Linked DNA regions of Homo sapiens: all the other regions are linked to region 3. Evidence: promoter capture Hi-C in 16 types of primary human blood cells and fetal thymus (Javierre and others, 2016). All regions are on one chromosome and are shown on one strand. Each heading gives the region's core, a stretch centred on a gene start or on the middle of the fragment in contact. The rest is flanking DNA. Distances are from core to core; before and after follow the strand shown.

What was found. The method cuts DNA at HindIII sites, captures the fragments that hold promoters and counts their contacts. A CHiCAGO score of 5 or more calls a contact.
Region 1: a contact is called between a fragment that was not itself captured here and the fragment with the promoter of GRID2 in region 3, in 1 of 17 cell types (M2 macrophages). The highest score is 5.7, in M2 macrophages.
Region 2: a contact is called between a fragment that was not itself captured here and the fragment with the promoter of GRID2 in region 3, in 1 of 17 cell types (M2 macrophages). The highest score is 5.3, in M2 macrophages.
Region 4: a contact is called between a fragment that was not itself captured here and the fragment with the promoter of GRID2 in region 3, in 3 of 17 cell types (M0 macrophages, M2 macrophages and M1 macrophages). The highest score is 6.5, in M0 macrophages.

What each region holds. Positions count from the first base shown.
Region 1 is chr4:90,452,176-90,458,089 of GRCh38, reverse strand. All of the region lies in intron 4 of CCSER1 (coiled-coil serine rich protein 1), which reads right to left. Among named protein-coding and RNA genes, the nearest start is that of CCSER1, 330 kb to the right of the region's middle. The HindIII fragment of the contact is 4,193 bases long and covers 1-3,419 here.
Region 2 is chr4:90,358,484-90,363,919 of GRCh38, reverse strand. All of the region lies in intron 3 of CCSER1 (coiled-coil serine rich protein 1), which reads right to left. Among named protein-coding and RNA genes, the nearest start is that of CCSER1, 230 kb to the right of the region's middle. The HindIII fragment of the contact is 2,451 bases long and covers 825-3,275 here.
Region 3 is chr4:92,300,251-92,306,056 of GRCh38, reverse strand. It overlaps GRID2 (glutamate ionotropic receptor delta type subunit 2), which reads right to left and starts at 2,091. Exons shown (of 16, transcript NM_001510.4): 1 at 1,313-2,091. The coding sequence starts at 1,400. RefSeq lists a silencer at 265-559. The HindIII fragment of the contact is 7,809 bases long and covers 1-2,471 here.
Region 4 is chr4:90,415,105-90,420,828 of GRCh38, reverse strand. All of the region lies in intron 4 of CCSER1 (coiled-coil serine rich protein 1), which reads right to left. Among named protein-coding and RNA genes, the nearest start is that of CCSER1, 290 kb to the right of the region's middle. The HindIII fragment of the contact is 252 bases long and covers 2,384-2,635 here.

The DNA of each region.
Region 1 (5,914 bases), core at 74-2,573, 1.8 Mb after region 3:
CCTGAAATTTCCCTGATTCTGGTGCCCTCTCCAATTTTGGAGCACAGTTGTGACAAAGCCTGGGCACGGCCATGACCCTGCTGGGTATGCACATGCTCAGGGTGGCACCGACACACCAGAACCCTGCTGTCTCGAGCCCCTCTGGACATTGGGTGCTGATAAGCATGGGAGGGACGGCAAAGAGAAGGTTGGCATGGGTCTGCAGGCTGTGGATGGCAGGTTGATGATGGCAGAAAGCAGATAGGCTCCTGGGTGGAAAGAGGTGGGTCCCTGGTGAAGACTCACCTTTATGCTAGGGATGGCCTGAAGCCTGGGTGCCAGGCTGCCAGTTGCTTGGAGCAGAGTGAAAATTATGGTGCCTTTTCCGGGCCCAGCCATGGCCGCCCATGGAACAATCAGCACACACTTCCTCCTCTTTGAAGCCCATAAAAGCCTGGACTCAGCCAGATTTGTAGAGACATTAGGACAACCTGCCTGTGGGGAGGAGCTACCCACTGTGGGTCTTCTCTCAGCTGAGAGCTGAACAGACATCTGGATGATCTGCCTGTTGAAAGAAGCTACCCACTTCAGGTCTCTGGAGAGCTGTACTGTAGCTCAATAAAACACCTCTTTGCCTTGCTCACCTTGCAGTTGCCCACGCACCTCATTCTTCCTGGAAACAAGACAAGTACTTGGGACCTGCTGAATGGCACAAACAGGGCTGAAACATGCCCCCCTAGTCAGCATGTTGTGAGCACGAGAAGAGGAGAAGAAAAAAGAGAGAAAAGAGGAGAGAAAAGTTGAGGCTCTTTGGGGAGTTCAGCTCTAAGAGTTCCCTGAGCCAGGGCTCTTACACGCTATTTGGCGTTCTGCAGTTCCTGGGATCTCCAAGCTGCTGGGTGACAAAGTGTTCCCTGGTGCCTGCAGTGGAAGCCACTTGCGGTACACCTGGTCCAGCCATAGCCTCGCAGGGAACCAGCACCTGTGCCAGCACCTGGAGCAGCCCGCCAGCCCCAGCCAGTGTGCCTTGTTGTACACAGTGGCCGGACCCTGGGATCGCTCGCTTACACACTCCTCACCGCTTCATGCCTGGCTCACCATTGGCAGGCATCGGATCTGAGCCAGTAGTACAAGCCGAGTGCAGACTGCCAGGCCAAGTGAGCAAATCAAGTCCAGTGGTCCTGAGCAAAACTTGGGCAAAGGCACCACCAGCCACAGAGATTTCTAGCTGGCAAAGCAACACCCTGAGGATCCTATGACATTTTGGGGGGCTCATCCAGGATCTGCAAAAGGGTGAGTAAAAGCAAACTTGCTGCTTTCTGTCCTTTTTTGGGGAATCCCTAAACTCCACTACAACCAAACTGAAAGAAAAATGCCATGCCTCTCTTGGCCAGTTGAAAGTGACTAGCATAGCTGCTGGACTTAAGACATGAGGACAGGCTTGCTGGGGAGGACACTGCCAATCCCCCATCACCCTTGGGTGTTGGGAATGTTGGCTTTGTTCCAATCCAGTTTCCCTTCATGGAGGTCTAGCCATCGTGTGGGATCAGAAGGAGGTCCTGGGGCAAATGAGGGTATCTGGCTGAGGCTATATCTCAGTGTTATCCAAAGGCCTCTGAACTAACTCCAGTCCCCGACTGCCTGTTAGGGTGTCAGCACTAGGACCTCCAGTCTTTCCTATCATTCTTTCTTTCTTTCAAGGTTGTCGTGGCTCCTATCTCTTCTTTATATACAATGATAAGGGTGTTGTTGCAAAGTACAGAGATAATAATACCGGGTAGAATAAGCACTTGGCTTGGTCATCAGAAGTGTAAATCAGAACAATGTGATGTCTATCTATTCTTAGAAGCAAGAAGGATGTAACAATTGAGAGTTTTCTTTCCCCTGTTGAAGGAACCCATTTGCACAGGGCAAAAGGTTTTTTCCCCAGGCACCTTCCCCACCCCTGAACTTAAATCATTCTTTTGGGAAGCATCTTGTTAGGCCAGGTCCCCAATTCCCAGGACTCCCTTTCTTTCCCTTGTTTGCAGAGGACCTGGTCCCACAGCTTCACCTATTCATAATAAGGAAGCAAGAGATGGGCTGCCCCACCAGTTTCTGGCTGCAATTTGGTGAGGCCACTAATTTAATGGGTCCATACACCCTCCTGAGGCATTTTTTTGTCCCAAGTTTAGTTTTGAGGCCCTAGAAAGAAAAACTAGATGTGAGAGATCCAAAGGCACATGACAGTGAAGTTTAGGGGGCACGGCGCAGGTGAGCATGACTAACTCCTGCCAACTAGGCCCTCCTGCATCGTGGATGGAGGTCATCCTCCTACCCATGGCATAGATAAGGTCTAGGGAATTTAAAGGTTACCAAAAGCAGGAGGATTAGGCACCATATAGGTGGGTGTGAATACTCCTGTTGGGTATGCCTCCCCACCTCATGGGTGAAGTCACACTTGCACACATGGTCAACACCTGCAAAGATCACGGGGATTTAGGGATATAAGGTCAGAAGAAAGAAAGGGATGCCCTTTTTTCTTAGCCTCACCTACCCTGGGTATTTGCTGGAAAGAGAAAGGAACAAAGGGATGCTTTTTACCCCTCTTTCCTGATGGGTAACCAACCATCTTCAACCTGCACTCCTCTTGACTGCATCCTGAATCACTGAGACCCCTTTGACCCTCAGACTCTGGAGAGAAGAAAAATCACCTTTTCCTCCTCTGTTCTCTCTTCCAGAAGGGTAAACAACCATCTTTAACCTATACTCCTCTAGAGTGTATCTTGAATTCCTGGGACTCCTTAATACTCAGACTCTGGAGAAAATCTGCCTTATATTCCTTTGCACTAAGGTGTGGCTGAATTATGTTCTGCAGGCAGAAGCATGGCCTCAGAAATGAAGTATTAATTTTAATACCATTCTGAAGCTGGAACTTTTCTGTAGACATGAGAGCAAATGGTTTGAAGTCCCACATGTGCAGACTTTCTTTGCCTTGCAGGGAAGTTCGGACCTTTGCCAACATTGTAGGATTGATTCTGCCCTCCTGGTGGCAATTTCAGAAAAGGCTGCAAGGGGCAATCCCAGGGAAATAGAGAAGCAAACCCCAGAGGTACCTCCATTGGGGGAATCATCTCCTTCCACTTCCCTTATCCAGGTTCTCTCTAAGTTTGTTCCATCCTAGAAATCTTAGTTTTAGGCACTTTTGCCCCTACAACAGGCTGGCAAATATAGTCTCATTAAGGTCCAAATTTGCTTTTCTCTACGGAACTTAAGGCAGATTAAGAGAGATCTTGGCAAGTTTTCAAATGACCCTGACATTTGCATATAGAGGCTTTCCAGAATTTAACCCAAGTATTTTAACTCTCCTGGAAGAACATTATGTTACTTTTGAATCAGATCCTGACTACTGTGGAAAAGCAGGCCACCCAGAAAGCAGCAGATAATTTGGGGGATAAGCTTTGTATGTCATAGAGTGCCAATCCAATTAGAAGAATAGTAGTATCATTGGAGGATAATAAATGGGACATCAATGATGAAATGGGAGAATGGAAGAGGAAACACTCTCAGGTGTGCATACTGGAGGGCTTATGAAGGACTAGAACTAAGCCTCTTAATTACTCCAAGCTAAACATGATAGAAAAGGGATTCAATGAGAAACCCACTGCCTTCCTGGAAATGCTAAAAGGGGTCTTGGTAAAGCATACCTCTCTATCTCTTGATTCAGTTGAAGGATAACTGAACCTGAAGGATAAGTTTATTACTCGGGCAGCCCCAGACATCAGAAGGAAGCTGCAAAAATAGGCTGTAGGACCAGATAGTACTTTAGAGAACCTCCTGAAATTGGCCACCATGGTCTTTCATAATAGGGATCAGGAGGAAATCCAAAAAAAAAAAAAAAAACATGAAACAAAAGAAAAGGCAGAGGCTCTAATGGACTCTTTGCAGGCTCACAAACCCCAGAGTCCCCTAGATGTACCTGTTAACTGCTACAAATGTGGCAAGCCAAGGCACTTCAGGAAAGACTGCCCAGGCAACATGAGAAAGCCACCTTGACCCTGTCCAGTAGGTAATGGAGACCACTGGAGGGAAGACTATCCCCAGAGACACAGGTCACCAGGTCCAGAGCTAGTCTCTCAAGTGGTCCAGCAGGACTCACACATCCCAGGGCTCCTCTACCTGGCTCTGGTGGTCCAGACCACCATTACATTCCAGGAACCCAGGGTGATTCTGAAAGTTGAAGGGAGGAAAGGGGACCTCCTCCTGGACACTGAAGTAGTCCTTTAAGTTCTCCACTCCAGTCCAGGCACTCCCTTCTCTCTTAGTGCTACCATAAGGGGTGTCTCAGGAAAGCCTTTAACCCAATAGTTTTCTCAACCCCTTAGTTGTAGTTGGCAGGACCTCTTGTTTACTCATGCTTTCTAATCATGCCTGAAAGCCCAACTCCTCTCTTGGGCAGGGATATTTTGGCTCACATGGGAACCACTATCTTTATGGCTCCAGGACAGACTCTTTGTCTCCCCATAGTAGAGACCAATATTAACACAGAAGTTTGGACTACTCCAGGGAAAATTGGCTGAGCCACAATTGCCACACTGGTCTCGGTCCACTTTAAGGATCTCACCTCCTTCTCTAACCAGAGACAATATCCTCTGAAACCAGAAGTTAGGAAATGACTAGAAGCCATCATTGATAACCTGAAGATTCAGGGCCTTCTCAAACCCTGTAACAACCCTTGTAATACCCTGATATTGGGGATACAAAAACCCAACAGGGAATGGAGACTGGTCTAGGACCTCTGCCTCATTAATGAGGCTGTGGTCCCTATTCATCTGGTGGTTCCCAATTCCTATAACCTGCTAACTGAAATACCTGAGGGAACTAAATGGTTCACAGTCCTGGATCTAAAAGATTCCTTTTTCCTTCCTACACCTCAACTCCCAGTATTTGTTTGCATTCAAGAATTCCTCCAACTAGGCCACCCAGTTAACCTGGACAGTGTTACCTCAGGAATTCTGAGACAGCCCCCACCTGTTTGAGAAGGTGTGTCAAAAGATCTCTCTGAGTTCCTTTATTCTCAGGTTAAAGTTTTACAATATGTATACATTATCCTTTATGTCCCAACTCTGATGAAATCTCTTAGGGAGGCAGTAAAGCTCTTAATTTTCTGGATAACAGGATATAAGGTCTCAAAATCTAAGGCTCAGCTCTGCCAGACTTTGGTGAAGTACCTAGGTCTAGTCTTGTCAGAGGGGACCCAGGCACTAGGTGAAGAAAGAATCAAGCCCATGTCCTTCTTTCCTTGCCTCAAAACCCTCAAGCAACTGAGGCATTCTTGGGCACTACAGTATTCTGCAGGTATAGATACATGGCACGGTGAAATACCAGATCCACTCCCTAACTTGGGAACCAGAGGCTAAAAGGGCCTTTGACCTATTAAAACAAATCTTGCTTGAGGTACCAGCCCTTAGACTTCCCAATGAGGAGATGTTCAATCTTTATGTCTCAGAAAGGAAGGCAATGGCCATGGGAGTTCCAACCCAGGCCCGAGGTCCAGCCCAGCACCCCATAGGGTACCTAAGGAAGGAGCTTGTTTTGACAGCTAAAGAATGGCCAGCCTGCCTCTTGGCAGTTGCAGTGGTAGCTTTGCAACCAGAGGTATTAAGTTAACCATGGGGAATAACTTAACAGTTTATGTGCCATATAATGTGGGAGGACTGCTGTCTTCTAAGGGGAGCCTCTGGCTAACAGACAACCACCTACTCAAATATCAAGCTCTGCTATTAGAGGGATCTGTAGTATAGTTAAGAAACTGTCTCTCCCTAAACTCAGCCACCTTCCTCCCAGACGAAGCTGGGGAGCTTGAACAGGACTGCGAACAGATAGTAGTGCAAACCTATGCAGCCGGAGAGGACCTCAAAAAAACCCCCTTAGAGAACCTGGACTGGACTCTCAT
Region 2 (5,436 bases), core at 801-3,300, 1.9 Mb after region 3:
CATAAATATTCACTTTACATTACAGAATATAATCCCATCTTTTTGCAGAATGAACATGTATCTATAGGAAAATTTTTCCACACTCTACCTGGCAACATCAGACCACTACAGAAAGGCTCTGCTCTAATAATGAGTGGGAAAATGAAATGGATACAATTACTGAAAAATAAAATTATAAGATACGTTAAGTTTAAAACTGTAGGTCATATTTTAATAAAATAATGTCACAGTTTTCTGTTTCACTTGACAATTTTCTTTAGCTTCTTTGGAAGGTACATGCTGTTATTAAATAATCTTAAGATTTTTTTTTTCTTTCTGCCCTTGAAAGTCTTTATTTGCCAAATCATGGTAGGCAGCCAAGTTGCATTTGGATAAGTAGTCTTTTTAGAATAAAACTCTCAAACACATGAGTGCACTTAAAGTCAGGAAATATAAAACAAAGAGAACCCCCCAACAGATCTGGTGTACTTTAGGTGCCACAGTGATATTCATTCACCAATTTATGTGGCAACTATTATATGTCAAAAAGTCTATGATTTTCTCTTCAGGATTAGCAATGCAAAAATGAAAGAAAAACAAATTTAACAGAAAAATTAAATATATTCTTGGTGTCAGTGTGCGTACTATTTATTTTAAGAAGGCAACAAAATCAAATGACTACAAAATACTATGACAAGTGCTTGATAAGCAATTGACAAGGAGAGAAGCAATCTAGAATTTGTAGAAAATTAGAAAACAGGAACCACAGCTATTTCGACTCTATGTTCCTTTGTTCATATTTGTCTCAGCTTTGCCATATTTTACTGTATAATCTTAGGTAAGCTTTCTATAATGTAAAAGAGGGATAACAGAATTATTGTGTGGATTAATGACTTAATACTGATAAGCTCATGTCAGTACAACATTAAATGTTTAATAAATAAATATCCCAGATCCATATTCACTCTAAATAATAATATAAATTTACTCAATTTGCAATTATCCAAGAGCAAATCTGTAAGTCTACAGATTGACAAAATAAATGTACTCACACAACTTAGAAAGGCATCCCTTGTATGAAACTATTGATATTATACTGTTAACTGCAAAGGAGGAAGCCTGGTTCATTGTAATCAGAATGTAGCCCATGGAATGATACCTTTCTGCTTTACCAGAAACTCCTGGCAAATCAAAGAAGAGTAGACTGAGGATCAAAAACACAGAGGGACGTCTGTGGCTATGGTAGCCTCTCTGCAGAATCAGGGCAAGAAAAGTGGAGAAGCCAGCGGAAAAGGAAAGAAATATTCAGGCAGCATGTGGGTAGGACTCTTTTCTAACTAATTTGGTCCCATTCTAATATTCCAATATTCTCCTTTTCTGAAGAAATGAGATTTTGAATAAGAGCTAGAAATCAATATGTGATCATTCTCAATTACACCTAGCCTTTGGTTTTTCTAAAGGAAAGAATTTATGTATTGATTAATGCTTCTAAACCATTTGACTAGCATCATTTTTACATTTGTGGTGATATATGAAAAACACTAAATGTTTTCTTAAATTCTGGATGTAATTTTAACTGTATAAGTTTATATTAAATACCTTCAGCATGTCATTTTGGCATTCTGAATTGTTTTTCACCAAAACTTTCTCTATTGCCCTACACCCTATCAAGAACTGTAAAGGTTGTGAGATTTTACCATGCATGACAGTATTATCGTCCAAAATTTAAATTTCATGAAATAATTTCATGCATGTTGACATAAGACACAAGATCCCTGTGTGAGAGTCAAAGAACTTTACTACTCATGGCAACAATAATAACCAGAGTGTCAGTATTTGCTTGGGTTCTCTGAGCCCTAATTTTCATTAAGGTAACACAAGAGAAGAATCCTGAGCTTGAGACTCAGAATCTTTTAACGTAGAAAGTAAGCCTGCCTGACTTTTGCACTAGAAGGACACATTATTATAGTGGAGAGTGAACAACCTGCTTTTTGCTCAAGAAAGAAACTGTATATATCTTCTAAACAGACATTCCTATATAAACTTGCCTGGAAAGGTAGTTTGAAGTTGAAGATAGTCAGTGCCTCTGCTTACAAGACTTGCAGAAACACAAGAGACTCACAGAGAACTGTCTCCCATTATCCCTTGGCTCCACCATAATATTGGTTAATTGTTCATTCTAAACCAAATACCACATGTTATCACTTAAAAATGGCAGCAAAACATTGGGTACATGTGGACATAAAGACTGCAACAATGGGCACTGGGGACTGCTAGACGAGAGGCAAAGGAGGGCAAGGGCTGAAAAACTACCTATTGGGTACTGTGCTCACTACCTGGGTGATAGGCTCAATTGCACCCTAAACTTCAGTGTCACATAATATATGCATATAACAAACTTTCACAAATACCCCCGAACCCAAAATAAAACTTAAAATTTTTTAAAAAGAGTGTTTTCTAAGTCAATTTTGAGGCATAGGCCTTCTTGTCCAATTTGGACATAATCTAAAATTCCCAGAGAAATAGTCAAAAAGGACAAATAGAAGAAAGTAAGTTGTAATTTTATTTTAGTTAGATATTGTAAAACAAATGGAAATAGAGAGGGAGAGGTGGAGCAGAAGCAACATGGAGAGCAGTAGGATTTGTACCACTCACAATAGTTGCTAATAATTATTGAGAACCTGCTATTTGCTGAAACCTGAGGTAAATTAATAATTAACTTTTTAGCTACTATCATAAACTATTTCTCTACTACTATAGAAACCATCGTATATGTTTAAAGAGTGCCTATCATTGGGAATGAAAAAATATAGATTGTCATTTCTTAGGAAAACAACATTTGATTCATTTTGAGAAAATTAGACTCAAAGTATGTTTAGATAATGTCACCTACAGGTCCTTTAAAGCCTTTACCTAGACAGAATGAACTATGGATGTACCATTGTAAATTATGTAAATTAATATCATAAAAATCATTCAATTTTATTTATCTTTATTATGGTCTCAGAGTAAATGAAAATACTATGACAAAAGTTGTGCACTATAAAATAAACTAAAGTTGAGTACTGCTTGAAATGTCTAATTTATATCAGAAGGTATACAATCTTTTCTTTGAAAATATGGTGATCTTTAACCGTATGGTAATTCATATGCATTATGTTGGCCATGAAGCATTATATTGACCATGATCAGCTAGGCCAATGGATGTTGACAGAAATACATCCATGAACAACTCTTTTCTGCAGAATGGACTCTTAAACCTCACCAGACAAAGACCATAAAAGAACGACGAAGCTTCTACGTTTCCAAGCTCCCTTGGACGCATCCCATGTGGAAGCTTTTTTTTTTTTTTTTTTTTTTTGAGACGGAGTCTCGCTCTGTCGTCCAGGCTGGACGGAGTGCAGTGGCGTGATCTCGGCTCACTGCAAGCTCTGCCTCCCGGGTTCACACCATTCTCCTGCCTCAGCCTCCCGAGCAGTCTCCCCATTCTCCTGCCTCAGCCTCCCGAGCAGCCTCCCGAGTAGCTGGGACTACAGGCACCCACCACCACACCCGGCTAATTTTTTTTTTATTTTTAGTAGACACGGGGTTTCACCGTGTTAGCCAGGATGGTATCAATCTCCTGACCTCGTGATCCGCCCGCCTCGGCCTCCCAAAGGGCTGAGATTACAGGCGTGAGCCACCACGTCTGGCCGTGGATGTTTTTTTATTATAAGAATATTGTGGCCGGGCGCGGTGGCTCACGCCTGTAATCCCAGCACTTTCGGAGGCTGAGGCGGGCGGATCACGAGGTCAGGAGTTCGAGACCAGCCTGGCCAACATAGTGAAAACCTGTCTCTACTAAAAATACAAAAAATTAGCCAGGCGTGATGGCGGGCACCTGTAACCCTTGCTGCTCGAGAGGCTGAGGCAGGGAATCGCTTTAACCTGGGAGGCAGAGGTTGTAGCAAGCCGAGATCTTGCTCCCACACACCAGCCAGGGCAACAGTGTGAGACTCCGTCTCAAAAAAAAAAAAAATTATATACATATATATATATATATACACACACACATATATATACACACATATATATACACATATATATACACACATATATATACACATATATATACACATATCTATATATAAAGTTTTTACAAGTTATCTACCATAAAACCATAGATAAGACTGATTTATTTATTTTATTTATTTTTATTTTTTTTGAGATGGAGTCTTGCTCTGTTGCCCAGGCTGGAGTGCAGTGGTGACATGTCGGCTCACTGCAACCTCCACCTCCTGGTTTTAAGCAATTCTCTGCCTTAGCCTCCCAAGTAGCTGGGATTACAGGTGCCCACCATCACGCCCGGCTAATTTTTGTATTTTCAGTAGAGATGGGGCTTCACCATCCTTGCCAGGCTGGTCTTGAACTCCTGACCTCATGATCCACCCACCTCAGCCTCCCAAACTGCTGGGATTACAGGCATGAGGCACCGCGCCCTGCCCAGAGGACTGATTTTATGTACTCTAAAAGCCATGCTCCAGAGGTTATATGCTCAGTATGTAAACTACTAGTTTTGGCAAATAAATAAATGAAAGAGGTATACTCTACTGAATTTAAAAATGGTTTCCAAAAGTACACAGTTATAACTCATTTTTATATTAGCTTACAATTTTGAAAGCATTCTCATATACTATTTTTATTTAAATTGCTATATTAACATTACTCCCCTTTTTGAGTACTGTGGACTAACAATAGTCTCTCTGGATGGTCTTTTCTTTCTGTTGTTCCTATTCAAAACTTATTGCTCAGGCTCAACTAGACTATCACCCCTTCTGTTAATCTCTTTCAGCAACATTTAGGCCTGTCATATCTTCTCTCTGAATTCGTAACACATCGTGCCTTATGATGTTCATTTGGCAGTTGGATACATGATACCATGTGACACCAGATTACTGTCATCACATTTTTAAAAGTATCTTTTCATGAATTTTAGTCAATATATCTCCAACTATATTCTGAGTAACTTATGGATGAAATGATCATTTATAATTCCTGGCATGCTCTACAATGACTTAAGTGCCTTATAAAGTAATGAATGAATATTTGTTGATGTTTGTGATTAAGCATTCATAACTGGCATCCCAACCAATAGAGTCAAAAATGACAATTCCCTGATGCCTGTTTGCAATTTATTAACTCAAATTATACTGACATTTTACTAAGCTTATTTTGTTACAAAGGTTTAATATTTGTTTCTCCCCCAAATGTAATCTTCACAAAACATCAAATATACCATATTTAATAATATAACTCATATTTTGTATTATAAATACAACAAATTTGGCAAGACCACATAAAATATCAATTTAATCTTTTCTCCTAATAAAATGTATTTAAGATATGCTTTTAAATATATAAGTCCACAAATTATCATCAAGTGCTGGATAAAGAAAATAACTGACATTTACTGAGAAT
Region 3 (5,806 bases), core at 842-3,341:
GAGTATGTGTACGTGCGTGTGTGTATGTGTATGCGTGTTGTGCGGTGGAGAAGCAGGGGTACAGAAAGGGGAGAAGCTGTGACCCATCTGTCGCCTCAATTTGCAGAACACCAAGCCATGCGTACAGATAAAAGTCCTGTGCCCAGAAAAATTCCCCCAAAGGGACCTCTCTGCAGCCCAGCAAAGAAACCTTGCTGGCTCGGTAAGCGAATTTCCGAAAAAGAAATCGTCGCATTAACGCAGAAAAGGCTGCAAGAGCCTGTCTCCCGCTCAGCTCTCACGGATTAGCAAGTGAGTAGAGTTGGAGCCTGAAGCTGCGAGCGCTGTGCATGATAATGACGCGCAGCCCCCCGCCCGCCCCTGCTCGCCGCGGCCAGTCCCGGCCCGTCTGGTTGCCAATAGGTGGGGCCACCAGCATCTCGGAGCCCGCTCGGCAGTCCTTCTCAGAGTCGCGGCCCGCAGTAGTCCCGGCGCCTTCGCTGTCTGCCTTGCGCGGCTACTCGGAGTTGACTGCGAGGCGAGGCGAGGCGAGGCAAGGCGGATATCTGCTAAGCAGACCTCGGGAGCAGCCTGCGCGCATTCGCTTCCCCGCGTTTCCCAAGCGCCCCGGGGTCAGTTTCGCCGCCGCGCCAGGCCCCGGGAGCGTGTCCGAGGAGGCGAGGCACGCGACAATCAGTCCTTGGCGACACTGCCGCCAGCCCCTCCTGCCACCGTCTCAAAGACTACACGCAAGGATCATAAAGCCAAGAAGATGTGAGAAGAGAGGGTGGCTGGGGGCGCATCCGGCACCCCCGTCACCATCGCACTAAGCTGCGGCGAACTCAGCCGGCTCACGTTGCAAAACCACCTGTTCGATCCGAAGGGAGCTCCCCCTACCCCCCAGCCCAGTTCTTTTCATCTCACAGGTGACAGCTTCTCTGCTCCCCCAAAGATAAATTTTTAAATGGAGCAAATGTACATCCGGGAAAAAAAATATGGAAGATAAGAGTCAATTAAACTCCCTTTCCCCACACACTTAGAATCCCCCTGCAGTTCCCAGCACACACTCACACTCAGGTCAACTCGAGACCCCCACGCATCCAGCCACATTCCACGAATCACTGCAAAACAACAGCACAAGTCAGTCGAGGTTCGAGCATCCACATCCTTTCAGAAAACTGAGCAAGTGTGAGGGAAGGGTAGCGGGAAGGGGCAATGAACTGAAGCCACCTCCAACAAGACACACAGAGACCGGAGAGGGGGAAAGCGAAGGGGAAACATTTGAGAACTGAAACGGTAAAAGTAACCACGAGCTGCACCAACACTTTCTTACCGATGTGAATGATCGAATCCGCATTCGCCGAGTCCCAGGTTCGAGACCACCAGACGGACAAAACCAAGAGAAAGGGGAAAACTTCCATCTCCTCCTATGCCGATTCTCTTGGAGGATGGATTTTCTTCCAATTTTTTTTTTTTCAAACAGTCCAAAGAGTTTGAGGTCACGGTGGAGTTTAGCGCAGCTTTTTCTTTTTTTCTAAATTCCTATTGCCAGAGCAAAGCCTTTTATCGTCGCCGAGAAAGGCAGAAGGGAATGACAGAAAGAGCCCAGCCTGAGGAAACCTCCTTCGCAAAGCCGTGTCACTTGGAGGGGAATTTTGGCATCGCCAGAGTTGTTTGCAGTTTGGCTTTTGAAAAATATATCCAGCCTCTACTGCTCTTGGGCAGGGGGAGAGGCTGGGGCTCAGATCAGACCCATCGCTGCGCGGGGGCCGCGGGTCTCCGGTCCCAGCTCCGCTGCAACTTCCAACACCCCCCTCACGCCGGATGTGCCCCCTTCCCCGCACCCTCTCGGACCAAAAAAGACCCCCGCCCCCGCCCCTACAGCCCGCAGAGAATCACTGGTCTTCGCTGCCAGAATCTAAGTGGAAAGGAAAGATTAGGAGATTCCAAACGGAGCAGCCAGATTCCACCAGGGAGGGGGGAAAAAAGCCCTCTCCAAGAGGGGTAGAAAAAGTGAACTTCAAGGTAATGCAGATAGTAATGCAGAGAAAATTCCCTTTCTGCGTGAGGCGCGGAACGCAGCTTGGCGAGGCGGGCCCGGGGAGCCGGTTTGCTGGGGCGCGGTGGCGGGGGGGTTGCGCCGGGCGCGAGCAGCGGGGCCGGGCCAGAGGAGGGAAGCCGCCGCAGGCTGCAGGATGCTTTTGGAGCGTTTCGCCTGGCGGGATGCAGGAAGCAAGGAGCGAGCCTGGCAGCTTCAGCACCAGCCCCACGTTGCCTAGAAATGGATCACCTAGGAGAAGGAGCGAGCCTGCGAGAGAGCGGTGCTGTCAGGCGGAGAGAGGGGGAAACCAAGAGAGGAAGAGCTTCTCTCTAATAACCACCTCCTCCCCCTATCTGCAATACAAGGGAGAAACAAAATAGTGCTCTCATTTCCCATGGAATCTTCAACCGGGACTGAGAAAAAGGCAGGACTGTAAAAAGACATTGAAGCTTTTTTTTTCCTTTCTTTATTTTACGAGGTTAAATGCAACCTAAAAAAGCCACCCCACTTATTTAACCTTGCTATTCTCTAACAGGTATCAGACTTTTTCTAGTCTTTGCCTGGAATTAGTCACATTGGTTGAAAACAAATTAGGGACACCTGGTCACTTAGGGAAATACAGACCTAGAAAGCTTTTAATGAGATTTCAATTATAAAGTTATAAAAAGGAGAGAACGTGCTAATTACCTTTTATACAATGATTTTTTTTTTCTGTCTCCAGTGTATTTTTTAGGCAATCAGGATAGAGAAAGGTTCCTGAAATCCTTTCTATTGATAGAAATTCTTCTCTATCAGGATAGAAAAGATCTTGAAATTAAAATAAAAAAGCAGAATAATTAAATAAAACAGAAAAATTTTTCATAAACATTTGGTCAAAATATTTCATTGAGTAGCTTAATAACCTATGTAGATAAATTCCGAATGAGGAAGTTGGGTACTCTCTTCCATGGAAAAAGCTGAGGAAGTCCTGAATGACAGCCTCTCAGTCTCCAGTGAAAGGATTTTCTGCAAGCTTATTCCTTAAGATAAAATCCTGATCATTGTGACTTCTTTTCTTATAATGATTGACTTATGTCAATCTGGCCTCATTGCAAACTGAAGATTTGTTAACACAATCGAGTGACTAGTCGAGGTCAGGTATTAATGTCATAATATTGTCTCAGTTATAATTGGAATTCTTTAGGAATGTTGGATGTGTGGATGTCAAGCTCATTACACAACCTTTCAAAGCCTTACCTCCAAGTTTGGCAAACCTCTTTTCCTCCCGTTCCCTCACTTGAGCCCTTCTCTCTAGCCTTCTGAATTGGGTTACTATTTTTCCAGACACAGTTGTACATTCTCACTTCTGGCTGTTTTCATTCATCTTGTACACTTTTTCCTGAACATTCCAGAAAATGTTTTGCTGCCATATTTTTACTTATGTTAATATTTCTGCTTGGAAAGCACGTATTTGTCCTCCCAACCACTCTCCTTCACCATCTCAAGGGCTAGTTCAAATTCCTTTTGCCCATGAAGTAGTGTCCAGTCCTTTAATGTGGAATAAATCCATCTATCTTCTATGCTGTCGTAACACACCCTATTTTGTATTAGAGTTAGACAGAACTACTACTAAGTTAGATCATAAATGCCTTGAGAGTGAAAACCAAAGCTCATTCACATTTTATTCAACACAGCATTTTACAGAGAACCCCTTTGTTGACTTGAATTTCATCACTTCCTTCTGAATCTGGAACAAACCAGTGCTTCCAAGAAGCATTCACTGATTAATTACTCTCAATTTTGATCATTCTCTTATCTTTTGTTTCCATTAGTAGACATTGACTCAATATTGATTATATTAATGTTGGTGTTAATGTCATTTTACTTTATAAAGTGTTTTGATGCAATTCCATAGATTATACTTTGCTTATTCAGATAATGAATTGAAAGAAGAGATGCACTCCCCATAGCTTCCTTCAAATATTATTTACAGTGACATTCTAAAAATTGGTAAGTCATTATGTATTCTATCAAGAAAAATTATAACCATTTAACATGGAAAGAACACCATGATATCTTAGAATAAGATAACTAGGAAGAACTTCAGAGCATTAACTAGTCCAGTCCTGGCTAATGAGTATCTGTCCTGGAGAAAGTCAAATATTGTATAGTCATATTCATACTATTTCCCCTCTTGGAAATGTTTTAGTGTACTGTGAGCAAAGCATTTTCATTATTCCCAAATCCTCCAGTTTAGTAGTTTTCAAATGTAGATTCACTTTGAAATAATCTGAGAAGCTTTTTAAAATGGTCACTTAAGGCTAATTTAATCAGAATCTCTGGAGTTTGGGACACAGCCTGTAATATATTCTAAAAGCCTCTATACAGGGCTCTGCTATGCAGCCATAGTTCAGAATCACTGTTCTAATACTCAGACATTTAAATGAGTCTGGGTGACACATCAAAAAAAGCCCTTAAGGTATAATGACCACTCCTGCCAATCAGAAGAAACAGTAGAACAACAAGTTTTGGCTTTCCAAAAGTTACACAAGAAAGTTAGTATAAATTTAACATTGGCTGTTTGATTTTTCAAGAATAACAATCAGTCTTTTTACTGTTGAAATAATTTCTACATTCAATGATTCCTAATTAATAAATATATAATAAATATATATTAACTATATTTTCTACTACTTTAGAAAATTGTCTGTCATAATGTAATATGTAGTTAGCTGGATACAAATATTTATAATGTGTGAGTTAGATGTTAAATTCCAGAAGAAAAAATATGAATTCACTAGCTGTGCATATTAAATGTTTTAATGACAGCTATCTGTTGGTCTCATTAAGGCTGCTTAACTTTAATTCAAGCCTTATTATATGGAAATAAGTGATGTACCTGGCCCACTGTACTTAAATTCAAACCTTGTGAAATTCTGGCATGTATTGGCAGGAAAATACCCTCATTAACTAAAGTTTTATAACAAATGATTAACTATTTAAAATAAAATGTAAGTAAATCATGTTTGTTGAGTTTATTCTTCCAAGGTGGAGACTGTTACTTCATTCAGGCATCGATCATGATTTGAACATCAATTATTTGAAGAAATGATAGATTATCTGAACTACCCCAAGATTTAAACTAATATGCCTATTTTTCTTTGAAAAGCAGAATTTTTGAGAAAAACTGATTTGCATTGGAGGGGAAACTACAAATGCTGACTGCTTCAATCATGCACAATTGTGGAAAGAAAGCAAGGTAATAGAATAGAAATTCTTGGAACATATAATTATTTCATTTTCACTGTTAAAACTGCTAAGAATACCAATGCTTAAATTTTAAAAATCAGCTGCTCATTGTTATAACAGCAGTAAATCAACTTACATTGGTCAATTTTAACGAACTGTTCAATTATATTTTAATGACTCATGAGTTTTATTTTGTTTTAGTATAAAGATCTATGAATTTATGAGTCAACTTATTTGAAACTTAAAAGAGTTGGTTTTTAAAATAATATCATCAAAATGGGACACAATAAATTCTGATCATTATTTCTAATTATTTATGATTATATTATTCATATTACAAATATGGCTAGTCACACAAAAGATTCCAAGTACATTTCAACCTTAATATGAGCATGAAAGGAAAACTGTTAAAAGGCAAAGACTGATCATCTATAGATGCAAGTAGTTGTGATAAATGGCTGTAAAATTGTAATTGGGATATTTATTTGCAGATGTGAAAAACATAAATTCCCTTTGGTTGAGGGACTGAAAGAGTAACTTTTGTACTCAGCACATCAA
Region 4 (5,724 bases), core at 1,260-3,759, 1.9 Mb after region 3:
AATGAACTTGGGCCATTGACTGCCCTTTTGTGCAGCAGAAGAGAGTTTATGTCAGTAGGAAATGCTACAATAGCAGGTTACAAGTAAATACTATGACTTCATTAAAATTGTTGTTATTTAATACTAAATTAGGTCAGGATGTATAAACATTTTTCAGCTACTGTTGATTGGATTTAGAAAACTGTTCCATCTAAAAGCCTTCTTTGTCACTGAAGCAATCCTCTTAAAAATATAGCAAAGTCTGAAAGGCAAAATAGATAGGCAGAAGCACTTTTAAATCAGGAAATGCAAATGATTTAGTCTGTTGGCAACTACCATAAAAATCAAATAATTGCCATCTTACTACATGGAGCTAGTCAATTTCTTACTTAAGAGTCATCTCTTTATTACAAGCAAACTATGTGACCCTGAACAAAACATTTAAAACTATTAATATTCATAGGAGAAGAAGTAGGAGGAGCTTCTACTTCTAAAATTCTCTCCCAGTTAGAACATTATTCTGTCACTTAAGTACATCATTTAACACAGAGTATGAAAAGAGTGCACCCAGGTGAATGTTACTATTTTAATTAATAAGTTCAATATTTTTTAATGGGAGTGTAAAAGAATGTATCAAACTAATGAATTAATCAATTGGTCAATTTGTAAATTGGTCGAGCAAAAACAGCTAATAAAAAATATTAAATTTTGAAATATCTACACTAAAAATGTATTATCGATAATTATATAGTCTTGTGTTTAAGGAATATCATGGTCCCCATACTCAATTAGTAGACTATAAATTACTGCTTTTTCAAGTACGACAATTAGGAAAGCCTTTCGCACAGCTATCCTTATATCTAAGTAGTCTTTTGCAAGAACCTGGGGAAAGAATATGGGGAAAAACATAAAAAACATATAAAAAGTTTAAGGTATATTCACATTTTTGCCATGGGGAATCATTATAAAATGACACTTCCTGGATAGTTAAAGCATATGAAGAACTGAGGGTTTATTTTCATTCAATAAATTAAAGAATAAATAAGAGTTTAGATATATTTCCAAAGTGAATTATACAGCTCTCCATCTCAGAATAATGCAGAATGTATTTTTTCTTGATGATTAAGAACTACAATAATAGTTTTTAAAAAGTAATGGTGTGCCACATTGTAATACAGCAATACTTCATTCCCTGCTGCTTCTCTCTCCTCTTCTCTCTCCTCTTCTAAGATGTTATTATGATTTTCAGTGCCTTGGAAAACATATAACCAAGTATATTAGAACTGTACATAAAATTAGAAGCATCAAGGTCTAGAAAAACAGTTAAAAGAAACTGCCATTTAATGTTAAGATCTAGGTTAATACTGGCTGAATAAGTTCTTTAACCAGAGTATTTGCTCCCTCCACTGTACTTGATGTATATTAACATCTATTTCAGAGTGTTACTGTGATAATTTGATGAGATAACATATTTGAAATAGCTTGTAAACTATAAAGCTGAATACAAATGTATGACAGGATTACTATCATCGTTAGAAGAACAAGATTGCCATCTAATGGCAACCAAGCAGATAACAGGTATTGTATCCCTTTTGAAGTAGAAATACAGAGTAATAGGATCTGCTGATGAAACACACAAAGTGACAACTGAGATCACAATTTCATCCTCACTAAAGTGTTATCAAAATTGTAGTGTAATAGAAAATTTGGAAACGCTATTATAACTGCTCCTTCTAGTAACTAAACATCATTGAGAGCTTTTATAGTGGAAACAGTAAGTGGGTATCAAAGCCACATAGGCATAATTGAAACCCAAGAATAGCTCTGTAATCATGCACAAATAACAGTGCTCTTCTGGGTTTCTCTTCCTTCATCTATGAAGAGAGAATGATAACACTTTCTGAGAATTGCTGTGAGGATTAAATTAGATAATCCAAAATGCTTAGAAATTATAGCTTAAAACTAAAGCAAAACCTGAAACAACAAAGTGCCCAGGCCAGTGGTCAGCACAATGTATATGCTTCAATAAATAAACATAGTTAATTCCAACTTCTTAGGTGAAGTCAAAGACAAATATATATTAAGTGATGCCCATAACTTAAAAAGCTATTAGAACAGAAGGTCAGTTTAAAACAAATGCTTCAGTGAACATGTGATTTTAACATTTTACATGAATTAATTTTATTAGTCAACAGAATCAAAATGGCTAATTACAGAGCCTCAGAGTCAGAAATACCATGTTTGAGTCTAGCTGGGATATTTATTCCTATAATGCTTTATCACTCAAAGCTCCAACTTTCTCAAATGAGAAAGTGATGTTATTTACCTCATAAATTGGCACCTAGACTCAATAAATATTATTTATTATCCCATTATTTTATTTAGTGCTATAATTTTATAAGCTTAGAAATAAATGATAAAAATTAGTTGCATGTGCTGTGGCATTCTATACTTAAAATTTGAGAAATTCTATATTTAAAAATGTTAAGATTTTCCACTAATAGAGACTGGAAAGATCACTAAATCTGTCAGAATCAGATGCTGATTGGCCTACATACAGGTATATCACATTTTACATGCATATTTTTAAAATGGTATTAGCAGTAGTTCTTAAAAATATATATGCTGGACATGAGATTGCATATTCTACAAAGCTTTAACTTATTGTTTCTCCATCAAATTTATGAGGTAGATACATCATCGCGCCCATTTTCAGATGAAGAAGAAAAGCTGCAAAAGATTAAATAACTTGCTCAAGTTTACATAGCCTGGCTGGTGGTTGAGATTTGTCTAATTCCAGAGCCAGCATCCATATTTTTAACCATTATGTTATACTTCAAAAATTAAGTGCTGTATGTTTCTTAGTTTTATATAATCAGATTAAAAATACTTTAGACACACTTTTTCTGACCAAGACACATCAGAGCTTGTAGAAATTTATAGTTGATTTCTATAATTTTCCCTGTGTGAATGTTGTTGCAATTCTCTGTACATTACCATTCGTATTAGGAAAACCACTAGGGTTTCATCTCTGCTCTGCTGTACTATTATTCATTAAAAATTAATAACAAAAATTATCTCCCTAATTAATAGGCACAGGAGGAGTTCCTAACTCACTGCAGAATTTTTATATTGCTTGTTCATCAAACTCAAAATAATTTAGCAACTACGCAATTAATTCCTCATTGATATCATTGGGCCATTACTTCCCCATTTTCCTTTGGATATATACCAAGAGACACTGCCCTAGGTGTTTTCAGATCTAATATACTAAATAAATAACCAAAACAACATAAAATATCTTCATTCTATCATCCAAATGACCATTACATTCTTTTTATCCAAAAACATTAAATAAGTAAGATATATTTTTAATTTAATTTAAAAACTCTTCTGCAAATTGTAAATATCAACCTTAATACAAAGTAACAGCCATAATTTCTCTTTGAGTATTAATGATTAATGGTTAATATTAATGGTTAATAATTTTTAAGGTATTTAAAATAGAAATTTATTCTTTTTCAAATAAATTTCTATTTTAAATATGCTATGGCAATTTGGACATTTGACTAACAACCAGAAAAAAAGTTCATGCATTTAAATGCATTGGTTTTTTTAAATTTTTTTTATATTTATTATACTTTAAGTTCAGGGATACATGTGCAGAAGGTGCAGGTTTGTTACATAGGCACACATGTGCCATGGTGGTTTGCTGCACCTATCAACCCGTCATCTAGGTTTTAAGCCCTGAATGCATTAGGTATTTGTCCTAATTCTCTCCCTCCTCTTGCCCCCAACCCACTGACAGGCCCTGGTGTGTGATGTTCCCCTGCGTGTGTCCACGTGTTCTCATTGTTCAGCTCCCACTTATAAGTGAGAACATGTGGTGTTTGGTTTTCTGTTCCTGTGTTAAGTTTGCTAAGAATAATGGTTTTCAGCTTCATCCATGTCCCTGCAAAGAACATGAACTCATTCTTTTTTATGGTAAATGCACTGGTTTTAACACAAAGAAATATACCACCTATTATAAGCAAAGTGTCCTATTTGATTTTTGAATATTTAGTACTAGTAAATTATCACTTAAAATGTTACATAAAATTTAGATAATAACATTTAAATCAGAAAGCACATTTTAAAATAATTTATAATAATGATAAAACATTAAGAAACTAGGGTCTACAAAAAATAACCAATAATGGGACAACGTCTTTAACAAGGAATTAAAACTGTCTAAAATTTCAAGAATGGTAACCAACTTGTACTGGGCTCTTACCCTATTTTGGGCAACTGAGAATAGAACTTTGCATGTCACTCATTTAGATAGGATTATATTTTGAGACAGACATAATTATTGTCATTTTACAAATGAGGAAACTGAGCTCAGAAATATCATTTGTTGAAAGCAACTGTGGGCAGAGCTGGAATTCTAACTTGGATATGCCTATCTTTAAAATGCCTGCTCTCTTTTGATATTAATTTGTAGTTTCTTTATTTTGAATGAATCATTAAGGTGCAATTTTCTCTCAGAGTTATTGTGAGGATTAAGTTGAGAGGGTTTACAAAAAGAGACTGGCTCATTATAGGCATTCAATTTTCCTTTCCATCAACCTATTTTTAACTTTATGAATTTTAAAATATTTAATTGATAAATAAGATTGAATATAGTCAAGGTAAAAAAAAGGTAATGATTTGATATACGTACATATTGTGCAGTGATAGCCACAAATTAATTAACACATCCCTCACCATTCATGCTGTATATTAGATCCTCAGAATGTGCTCATCTTACAACTGAAAGTTTGTATCTTTTGATCATCTCTCCATTTCCCTACCCTGAAGCCACTGCTAGTTCTACTCCCATCAACTGAGATCTCCAGCTATAAATTGCCAATGATTATGTACAACCTACCCCAGTACTAACACAGAAGTCAGGGTAAGAATTAAAGAAACAGTATTGTAAGTAATATACTCCAAATGGGTAACACTAAAATGTGTTTTAGCCCTCTTTTAACTTTAATTCATTTAATTATGATGCATCACTCTCATTACCCAGGTGCATATTTCCCATCAGCTTCTGCCACTACGAAGATAATCCTATGAGTAGCCGAAATAGAAACAGGACCTTGTTTTAGTTTACCATGGATTAAATAGCTAAAGATTAAGTATTCCAAAACACAAACCCAAATTCTTATTTAGAATATGCATTGCTTAATATTTAACCAGTTATTTGATAACAGCCATTTGCAAAATTGTCTTATTTGTTACCCAGTGGTTATCTTTCATCAACAGCTCATTTCAGAGGATTCATCAGGAAATAACATTGCTTAATATCTGATATTTTATTAAGCTTTATGGTAATTACTTTCTGTCTGACTAAAATTCTTGACAATATTTACTTTACCTAATTTCCATATTGAAATTATTTGAGGAATACAAAGTATAAAAAAAGTTAATCGATTTTATTTTGAATTAAGTACGTTCCTTATAAGGCTCCAAGCTTTTGCCACACTGACGTGGCACCGTTTAGAACTGTTAATACTGAACTGGCAGCATGATGTCTCAGCTTGTACTGAAGGGGGTTGCTAAGCAAATTATTCCCGATTCAAATCATGTGCACCTTATGAAGACATGTGAGCAAAATACATTTCAGTTCTTAGGAACAAGAATTATTTTATTTAAGAAAATACATTCACTGATTGAATGATTGATGATATATATTTTGATTTTTCAACTGATTTTCTTTCT